Regions from separate parts of the Homo sapiens genome. Here region 1 is linked to region 2. The links are contacts of gene promoters, found by promoter capture Hi-C in human tissues and cell types (Jung and others, 2019). All regions are on one chromosome and are shown on one strand. Each heading gives the region's core, a stretch centred on a gene start or on the middle of the fragment in contact. The rest is flanking DNA. Distances are from core to core; before and after follow the strand shown. Region 1 has its middle 88 kb from the start of SLC24A2. Region 2 holds the start of SLC24A2 (solute carrier family 24 member 2).

Region 1 (5,407 bases), core at 1,582-4,081, 88 kb before region 2:
ACTTTTAAATAGTCATAGGGAAATACACAGGAAAACAGTGGAAAAAATAAATCAAAACATAAGTAGATTTTGACTCTAGGAACTCCTCTTATAGGTCATTTTATTTTGTTATTTTTTTACTTCTTCATGTTTTAGTCTACCTTTCAGAATATCTTATTTTGATAGTCAAGGAAAATGTTAAGAACCAGGTTTAAGAGGGACTGTAGAAAGGGCATTTTTATATTTAAAAATGAGGGGATCAAGGTAATTATAAAAGACATTATTATTTACTTGCTAATTTTATTATAAAATTCACTCATTCTACTTTGCAAATACTTATATCCTCTAAGCAAACAAGAAAATAAAAATTCCATATGCTGACTTTTGAATTCATATTTGAAATAACTCTTACTTCTTAGGGGGAGGAGGGAACAGTGATAGAGTTGACTCAAGAGCATTTAGTTCTAATCAGCGTGCCCCCTACTGGCTTTTTTCTTCCATGTTTTTCAGTTGTTGCATTTTTGGCTTGGGGAGAATATTTTCTGATACTACTATTACTACTATGAGGCAAATGAAAAAATTACTATTCAGATATGTAAAACCAACAACATTTTAACATTCAAGTCTTTATAACAAGGTTCCATTGTAACCCAAAATAACTTGCTATTTCCTTTAAACTAAATAGGTAATAATGACTACACCAGGTATTTATATGATGCTCTATATAGGTTTTCCTAAATTCAAAGCAATTTGACTGGCCACAGCAATCCCAACCTACCATGATTCACCCGTACAGCACTCAGCTATAAAATAGCTCTTTGCAGACTGCATACAAATTAACTTACCACCATCAGTCTCCTCTCGGGGTTGCTGCAAATTGCTTCCTTGACTCCCAGCCTGTCTGGCCTCACAGCCCTGTGTTTCAGCATCTCTAGCTCTTTGCAAGTAGCAGCCTCAGCATGACCTCTCTGGGGATATTACTACTGCTTGTGTAAAAGATGAGGAAGGGACAGAGGTGGGAGGGGATGCATTCAACAGAAAAAAAGACAAGGAGGAATAAAGATTAGCAGACTGAGACAGAATGTCTAATTGCAATAAGGTAATGATGGAGTTTTTTCCTGTGGTGGTACATGGTTTTGAAGGTGGTCTCCAAAGAGAAGTCCAACATGTTTTGAATTATGGAGTGTTGTCTTCATGCTCTAGAGAGAATTATTTTGAAGACAATATTCTATGTGTGGCATAATTGGGGGTTTTCTGGGGGAGAAGGGGAAGGAGATTATATTAGTTTCTTCTTGCACTGCTATAGAGAAATACCTGAAACTGGGTAATTTATAAACAAAAGAGATGTAATTGACTTCCAGTTCCACAGGCTGTATAGGAAGCATGGCTGGGGAGGCCTCAGGAAACTTACAATCATGGCAGAAGGCAAAGGGGAAACAAGCAGGTCTTACATGGCCAGGGCAAGAGAAAGAGAGAGATAGGAGGAGGTGCCACACACTTTTAACAACCAGATCTGGTAAGAACTCTATCAGCACCAAAGGGGGAAATCCACCCCCATGATCCAATCACCTCCCACCAGGCCCCACCTCCAACAGTGGGAATTACAATTCTACATGAAATTTGGGTGGGGACACGAATCTAAACCATATAAAAGATTGTCATGATCATTATGCTATTTCTTATTTTGTTTTTAATTATTTCTATTCTGCTTTCTTAAGATAATTTCTAAAGATGTTATGGAGTAATAAGCAGGATTAATTTTTTAAAAATCCAAGTGCTCATCCTGGATTATCCAATGGAACTGGCCCCACTCCTACTCCTACTAGGAAACCTGCATCCAATCCTTCCCCTAGCAGCAAGGGCTTCAATTTCCTATTGGCCTCAAAGTCTCCAGGTGTTATGGAGCTGTTTTCCCAGGATTGCTGCAAACTGCAGCCGCCTAAATTCTGGCAGCTTGGCAATAAGAAGTCTTCTTGCTGATAAGGGCATTTTTGTGCTCATTCCAAAAAAAAAGTAAGAGCAGTAGGTGTTGTTGTCCCTTGACTGGAGCACTCTGGATCTATCGAGCCCAAAATGCCTCTGCACAGGGTGGTAACAGGTCTGCTGCCTTTGTGGCCATGAGTTCTGGCCAAAAATATCTTCCCTTTCTGGTGTTACCCCCAAGCCTCATAGATTCACATCTTTAAAAAATTAAATAAGCACATACATAAATTTATAAGAATAAGTAATAAGAAAATAAGGATGAGAAAATAAGATGGAACCAGGGTTGAAGGTGTAAATTAAGTGTACGCCACAAAGTTGTACACTCTTGTAACCTAGAAGTCCCAGTTACTTCAGCCCTTGTGTTTCACTGTTCCCTTTAATATCCAAAGCAAGAATCCAAATATCCATTCCAGGTGACCACAGGCAATCCAGTCTTCCTCCAGGTTCCTGTCTCTGAGTGTTTCTGGAGCTCTGCAGAAAGCTTCCATCTGCCACAGTTCTATCTTGGGGGCTACTTCCCTCCTCAGCTTGCTGTCTTACTTTGGGCAAGTCACTTCTGGCCATCTCAGATCCAGCTTTGTCCTGACTGCCACTACATTCCCATACTCCTTCACTCCAAACATTAGGGAATTCCACACTTGAGGTCGGTTTCTGGAATGTATATGACTTTACTAAAAGTAAGGGAACTATCACAAAGAAGTTGCCACAAAGAAAAGGAAAATTTTAAATTGGTTATGAAAATGGTCAGTGCCTCTAGAATCTGTAGGCTAAACTATGGAGCCAAACTCCATAGTTTAGCCTACAGATTCTAGAGGCACTGACCATTTTCATATACAAACTATGGACCTCCATAGTCTCTCTCTTCCCAGCCTGTCTCTCCTTTTCCTCAAACTCAGTCTAATGGCAGTCTCCAGCTTGCTTCCCACCGAAGAATTGTTCTTCCTCTGATTTCCCTCCCTTTTGGAAGTCAAGAAACCCAGCCCTCACTGGGGCCCAATAAAAAGGGAGGAACATCACTTTTCCCTCACCCTCAGTCTCAGGCCCTTCTTTCAGACAATGGCGTAATAATCTGCACAGACATGAGTCCCCTAAAGAAAGGCAAAGGTTCATATTAATATAGAGAGAAATTTAGCTCCCATATTGTCCAAAGTTTTCCATTCTGAAATAAAATTTTTGACTTTACCTTTGCAAAAGACAAATGAAAATATTTCTCCTAATGAAGAAAATAGTCCTTCTCAAAAATGAAGCAGAAAACAGCTGGCAGCTTTAAAATAGCAGCTTGAACTTACTTAGATCAAGATTTCAAAAATATTGACTCAATATTTTTGGTGAACCACAAATATGGTTCTAAATCTTCTAGCAACCCTTGTGGAAGGAAACATGACTCACTTTGTGTTTCAAGGTGTCCCATAAGACAAAAATTAACTTTTCCCATGGCTATGAGAGAGACAGAGAGCGAGACAGAGAAAGCTGTGTAATGTAATAAAAACATCTTTCATAATATCTATTAGTTAACATAGCAACAAGCTTTATAAAACTATTTCTTACAATGATCCTCACTATAAATTGGAGACATCATCATTCAGTAAAAGCAGTTCTATGGAAAGCCAATTTAAAATGGGTTAACTACACAATTTGCTGCTGATCTGACTTAACCAGAAGAAGGCTGTAAAGAATTCAGCCAGAGGGTCTTCACATAGCCCCTTATATATGGTTTCCAAGAATTCTATGAATTACCACAATTGGCACACATGTACACACACACACACACACACACACACACACACACACACGCCTTCAATAAACATACATTTTAATGTCAATCCATATGTTGAGATATTATCTCATTCTAAGTAAATGTGAGATGGCATGGGATACTGTTGTATATCCTCAGGATTTTAATTCATGTAATGATGTCTTATTATTACCTATTGAACATGCCCTTGTGGCCACTGAACCACATTCACAATTACAGAAATCTTTCTATGTTTAGGTGTTGTCTGGTTTAAATTGAAAAATATTCAAGAAGCATAATATTAATATGCTCTTTGATTTGGCTTTAATAATCAAATCTGTTGGCCCTAACAATACTAAAGGAAGACTTGACATGCTGCAAGTATATTAGATAGAGGATATTTTTGGAGAAAGTGTTGGTATTCTACTAACTCTTGCATTTTTCCCAAACATTAAACTTTGTTTTGAAGTATTGGATAAGGTTGCTTATCACATTACCATGCACAACTGGAGAAGCCTTGGTTAATCCATGTGCCTTGGAAATGATTGAGTGAATGTATGACTTGAAACAGAGAAAGGAATCTGAAGCAGTGTGTCATTCAAGTGACATGATCTAGCCCCAGATTCTTCTCATATTTTAAGCACATTCGTAGAAGAATTGGCAGCTGTTCATCATTCCTTTCAATATGCAACTGGATGCAACCACTATATTTCTCACTGTAGTTCACAACTGATTTTCAGCTGCTGGGTGCAGGCCTGTACTTCATAAAAGAATTCCTCTTTCTTGAGCCCTATTTTGAAATCTCAAAGGCCCTCACTGTCTTCAAAATGGTGACAAGTTTCTTTGCCAAGAAAACCTCCCCATAAGGATAATCTTGATATTCCGCTCACAGATGGAGCCCTTGCAGGACTTGGTAACACATCTGGGTTGATGCTTTGATGAACAAAGAGGCTCCGTATGTCATAATGACTCATTGCTGTCCTCATCGGTATGCTTTTCAGTTAGAGACTCTGCCAACCATCTTGAACTAAGTTTTGTCATTATCTACTTAAAAGTAAGTCCTCAATTTCGTCAGAGTCAGGGCTTCATCCACCTCATTTTCAAATGACTTTATGAAGAAATGAGAGCAAAATTAAAATGTTATCTACTAAGCAGAAGTACACTGGTATTTTTTAACACAAGTCTTGAAAGAGTTGATTGAAGCATCAGGAGGAAATTTCAGTTCTTTGAGAGAGAAAAGGAAAGCTTGTTCAGTATAATCTGACACAAAGGTATCCATTTATGATTTGGTTTTCTCAGTAATACTTTTGCCCATAGGCAAGAGTAAACTTTCCATTGAAGGCATCAAGTCACCATATGAATGCTAGTTAAAAACAAATACATAAGGCAAAAACTTTTGGCTGAGCTTTTTTTTTTTTTTTTTTTTTGTAATTCTGGAAGATAAAGTTAGACATAGAAAACAAAATTAACTAAGCTAACTCTCTGAAGCTAGAAGTGCTTCTGTAAATTGAGGAGAATAAATAAAGCCTTAGAGGTTTCATTGTAGGCAGAAATTTAAAGACAAAAATTGAAGAACAATACCTCTGCTCAAATTATTTGCTTACAATTTGGAAATGCAGATAAAGAAGACTTCATTCCATTGCTAAGATATCATCAATAACTCAGACGCAGACAAAGCTGACCTCAGAGATCAGGACAAATGAAATGATG
Region 2 (5,512 bases), core at 1,112-3,611:
ACTGTTTACACTCCCTTGCAGCTATGTCTTGTGACCAAGTCGTGATCAGTGAAATGTAAGTGAAGCATTGACAGAATCCCTTCCTAAATAAAAAGACAAAGCCTAGCAAGGAGGCCTTCTGCCTTTCACCCTTCACTCTTTCCCTTCTTCCTGCCTGGAACACAGATGTAATGCAAAAGAATAAACCATTTTGTAGCCATGAGGATAAAGCCATACATTAAGAAAGACAGATCAAAAGATCTGGGTTCCCAGATAGCATCTTGAAGCTATTTTATAAACCCTGGGCAGTCTGCTTTCAGACTTCTTTTTACCATGAGAAAAATAAATTCTTGTTTGGTTTAATCACCAAGAATGAATTTTTATTATGTGCAACCAAGTGCAAATCCCAGCCAATACAATCTATGGACTCATGAGGTCTTCATCTGGATCTCATTCCTCTTCTCACCGAATCAAGACTCAGGGTCATCTCTGAGCTGTAGGGGAAAAACCTGAAACCATAAAAATTCTAGAAGATAACATAAGAAAAACTCTTCTAGACATTGTGATATTCCCCTCCGCACCCCATGTAGCCAGAGGCACCTATTGCCTCAGGGAAGAATAGGATTGTTAAACTAGGAAAGTAGACAAAGGCAGGGTAAAAATAAAGCCTAATTGGTTACCCAGAGGTCCAATTTGTATAGAAAAGGCAAAATAAATGCACAATTGTTTTCCTTTTCCTAAAACAGTTTTGAAAATTATGAGCTGGTTCCCTCTGAACCATCAAGCAATCAATCTGTTCAGTTGTTTTTAAAATATTATCAATTAATAGATATAATCATGTTTGATGTGTTTTAAACAATTGCGATTATCTTTTTTTTTTTTTTTTTTGATGCTCAAATTAGCCCGTCTTTGGTCAGTGACAGCCTATTTGAATTGTCCCCTTCTTGACACAACCCTAGTGGTAGTTGATAGTTTTCTTGCTTTCTGAAAATATTTACAGATAAAATGATATGATGCTCTGGGATTTGCTTCAAAATGATGACATAGGAAAAAGGGGTATAGATGAAATATGACTGTCCATGAGTTCATAATTGTTCAAGCTGGTTATGGCCCCATGGAGATTCATTATACTACTTTCTTACATTTGTATATGTTTGAAATTTTCTAAATTAAAAGTTAAAGATAAAAAAATTCAGTCAGGCACCTATAGTCTGCAAGCACTTGGGAGTCTGAGGCTGGAGGATGGCTAGAGCCCAGGAATTCAAGACAAGCTTGGGCAACATAGCAAGATTCAGTCTCGAAAGGAGAAAGAAAAAGAAAAGTTGAGTCTTGAATGCCTGGCTTTGATTGGGGGGTGGGGGGAAGAAAAATATTTCTAAGTTCCCTAGGCTTCCCTTTACTTATTGATGAGTAGGCCCAGAGGTCTGACTACAGAGCTGTACTCTAAGTCAGAGGTCATGAGCTCTCAGGATATACCCATTACCCCCATTGTAAGGAGGGCATGAAGAAACCCTCTTGGATGGGGGAGAGAACAGAAGGATGGAGGGTAAGGAGAGGGGAAAATGTGCGAAAAGCTTTCAGAGCTTCACGAGTTGGGTACCTCTTGGCAGCTTTGCTGGTGGTCACAGGGTTGGGTAAAAGGGGTTCCCTCACTACCAATTTGTCTTACCACCGTCTTCCATTCTTTGGCCCAGATTCTAGTCTCTCATCCCCAACAAGCCTGATTCTATTTCTTGTGGTCAAGGGGATCTTGCTTTCCAGATAGGACAGGAAGGAGCACTGGGCTGGACATCCCGAGGCCAAAAGCCGAAGCCTGTCAGTGATTCAAAATGACACGGGGTTTTGGGTCTCACTTTCATCACCCATGAAATGAAAGGTCACCCTGCAAGACTGAAGCCCCTGCAGTGTCCCAAGCATCCAAATCCAACACTCAAGAAACCCTGGACCCCAACAGCCTGTCCTGCAGGCCTCCGTGCCTTTTCATTGAACGTCTTTTCCACCATTACACATCACATCGCCTCCTAAAGAAAAGCGCGACTGCTATCACTTTTTGCAGATAATTGGAGAGGCGGTGCCCAGCATAAGATGACCCCAAAGTTGACAGCACTTTCAGGCTTTGTGAATTAGGCGCGTCACCGACCTGTACGATTTCTCCTCTCTGCCCTTGCTCGCCTGCAAATCCTGACCCCCGTCCACACTGCGGAGAAATCTCCTAAGAGACGGCTGCCAGCGTCGCCTCTGCGCCCAGGAGGCGTGGAGCAAAGGACTCGGGAGCTGAGCGCGCTGCGGCCCCGCTCCCAGCGCACAGCGCACAGCCCAGAGGGAGGGGCCGGCGGGGGCCGGGCAGCGCCAGACTCGGAGCGCCGGGCTCACAGCGGCTCAGTCTCCTCCCGAACCCAGCCCGGCTGGCGAGAGCGGCAGCCAGTGCGAGCCAGAGCCCGGGCCTCAGAGCGGGTAGGCGGAGGGCCGGCGGACTGGAGCGGCGGGCCGCGCTCGGGGGCCCCGCCGTGTGCGCGTCCTCCCATCTTATCCTGGTAAGTGCGGGCGGCTGCGCCCCGCCTGCCGCTGTAGCCGCTGTGGCGGTCGTCCCCGCATCCCGGTTGCGCGCATCCCGTTGCTGCTCTGCAGGCTCACAGGTGGCTCTGCCGTGGATGTGGGCGCCCCAGGCCCCGCTAGGAGTTAGCCAACTCTCTGTGCTCCGGGGCGTGGATTTGGAGCCCCCGCCTCTCCTACCCTTGCTTTTGGCTTGGGATGGGGGGCGTGGGGCAGGGCCTGCCGTCGGGGGAGACGCGCAGAGGGGCGCTTCCATTCCCCAGCCACCTACAAACGACTCAGGGGGATGCGGGCCAAGCGCCTCACCAAATGCAACCCAGCTCCAAGCTCACAGGTGGGGCGTCTGTCCTTTAGATTTATTTTCCTATTAATCCACCAGGGAAAGTTTGGGACCACGCAAGGCAAAGTTGGGGCGCGGCTGGGGGCGAACATTCTCCTACGGAGGCAGCTCCCGGGGAGACGAGCGGTGGGTTTTCAGGGGGAGCGAGGATCGGGCTGGAGATGACTTTGCGCCCGGGGAGTTGAATCTGTCCCTGCTGGTCGCCCGGGCCGGGCATTTACACAATCCCCTGAGTGCTGTGAATCGCTTAATCGTTCCTGCTAAGCGTTGACGTTCGCAGCCACCTGGGAATCTCCGTGATGGGGTCGGGTTATCTCAGGAGTAGCAGCAACTCAGCGGGGTTGATTTGTGCTCTTGCTTTGCTCTGAAAACCTGAGCTCCAGCTAATCTCAGTATTTAAGTGGCGTGTGTTTAATTAGCTTATTTTACACCTGAGATTATCTCAGCGACTGCCTCCAAAATGAAATCGTTGATATGGAAAAGAATAGTCTTTTTAAAGAAAAACTAAAAAGAGAACTCTTCAGAATATCAGCTGTCAAGTCTGGCTATTTTACCCATCTCCTCCGTGGGATAGAGAAAGAAAACTCTGCTTTGGATATCTAACCTATTAAAGTCAGTGGTGGGGCTATTTTGGGCAGATTTTGTGGACAGAGGTATTGCTACAACTTGCGTATTGTTTATGAAATACACATGTGGTCTCTCGAAATAGCCTACTTGTTATTTCACTGCATTGGGAGTTCTTTGACTTACTAAGCTGCCTATTTTAAATATGACTAAAGGTTGTTTTTTTAAAAAAAATATTTAGCTGAAAACAATGTCTAGATGTTTAGGGAAGGCAGCTTGTGCATGTCACCAGAATTTTTTTTTGTAAACTTAAATTTGTAAAGGACTACTTTCCCGCATCTGATAAAGGAGAGACTTTTTATGAAAAATAAGATCTGATATCATTATGTGTGCAGAAAAAAGATCACTAAATTAAAGAATCACTCACTTTCCAAATGATAGGTTAAATCAGAAAAAGTTGCCTACAACTGAGAATTATGTAATTGGACCAAAAGTAAACAATGAATAATTGTTAGTTGCCAAGTACCTAGACAGTTCTGAAAGAAGTCTAGGTACCTTTATAGCACTGGAAGGTTATTACATGATTTAAGGTGAGATAATCTGATAGATTTTCACCTGTAAAATTTTTATTCTTACATCTGCCTTCTCTGCACCTAACATTGGATTTACCAAAATATTTATTTGGGTTTATACATACATCTTCATAAGTGCCACATCCCATACTAAGTGCTACATATGTTTTTACTCATCTTGAAAACAATCCTGGGTGGTAGGTACCGTAATTGTCCCCATTTTAAATGAGGAAACTGAGGCACAGAGAAGTTAAGTAACTTACCCAAGATCGCACAGCTGCAGGACAGGACTTTATCATATCTGCAAAGATCTTTATTAAAAAGACGTGATTTTATGATTTACTTATTCTCGTTTTTATTTTTATTTAAGCATAAATGATGAAAGTTTCCTGTGAAGCATAACAATCCCTGATTGTGAAAGTACCCCACAAGCATCGTTAACTATAAAGTAAGGAAAAGTATGAAAGAACCATCTGGTTGAGTCTAAAGTTGGAAGATCACCATATCCACCAGAAGACCCAGGATGGATCTGCAACAAAGCACCACCATCACTTCCCTAGAGAAATGGTGTTTGGATGAGTCACTGTCTGGCTGCAGAAGACATTATAGTGTCAAGAAAAAACTGAAGTTAATTCGAGTCTTAGGCCTTTTCATGGGTCTGGTAGCCATTAGCACTGTCTCATTTTCAATCAGTGCCTTTTCTGAGACAGATACACAGAGCACAGGAGAGGCCAGTGTTGTAAGTGGCCCTAGGGTAGCACAGGGTTACCATCAGAGAACTCTCTTAGATTTAAATGACAAGATTCTGGATTATACTCCACAGCCACCTCTTTCTAAGGAAGGCGAGTCTGAGAATAGTACAGATCACGCCCAAGGAGACTACCCGAAAGACATCTTTTCCCTTGAGGAGAGAAGAAAAGGTGCGATCATTCTGCATGTCATTGGAATGATCTACATGTTCATAGCCTTAGCCATTGTCTGTGATGAGTTCTTTGTTCCTTCTTTGACTGTCATCACTGAAAAACTGGGCATCTCTGATGATGTGGCTGGAGCCACCTTCATGGCTGCAGGAGGGTCAGCCCCAGAACTTTTCACATCTCTCATAGGGGTATTTATCGCTCACAGCAACGTTGGCATAGGCACAATTGTAGGTTCAGCAGTATTCAACATCCTCTTTGTTATTGGCATGTGTGCTCTGTTTTCTAGAGAAATCTTAAACCTGACATGGTGGCCGCTCTTTCGAGATGTGTCTTTCTACATTGTTGACTTGATCATGCTGATCATATTTTTCCTGGATAATGTCATCATGTGGTGGGAAAGCTTGCTTCTCTTAACAGCTTATTTTTGCTATGTGGTTTTCATGAAATTCAACGTCCAAGTAGAAAAATGGGTGAAGCAAATGATAAACCGCAATAAGGTCGTCAAGGTGACAGCACCAGAAGCCCAAGCAAAGGTTGGTGGTGGTGGATTTTTATTTAATGCTTTTCTTGACTACGGTTCTGAA

The links. The method cuts DNA at HindIII sites, captures the fragments that hold promoters and counts their contacts. A contact is called where the count stands out against the background at its distance.
Region 1: a fragment that was not itself captured here is called in contact with the fragment with the promoter of SLC24A2 in region 2 in 3 of the 25 tissues and cell types used here (H1 embryonic stem cells, heart right ventricle and spleen).

The regions. Positions count from the first base shown.
Region 1 is chr9:19,874,714-19,880,120 of GRCh38, reverse strand. It overlaps a transcript of SLC24A2 not described here. Among named protein-coding and RNA genes, the nearest start is that of SLC24A2, 88 kb to the right of the region's middle. The HindIII fragment of the contact is 5,741 bases long and covers 1-5,407 here.
Region 2 is chr9:19,785,886-19,791,397 of GRCh38, reverse strand. It overlaps SLC24A2 (solute carrier family 24 member 2), which reads left to right and starts at 2,361. Exons shown (of 11, transcript NM_020344.4): 1 at 2,361-2,513; 2 at 4,379-5,461. The coding sequence starts at 4,532. It overlaps LOC124902128 (a long non-coding RNA gene), which reads right to left and starts at 2,239. Exons shown (of 2, transcript XR_007061432.1): 1 at 2,120-2,239; 2 at 338-473. RefSeq lists an enhancer at 2,798-3,445. The HindIII fragment of the contact is 14,556 bases long and covers 1-5,512 here.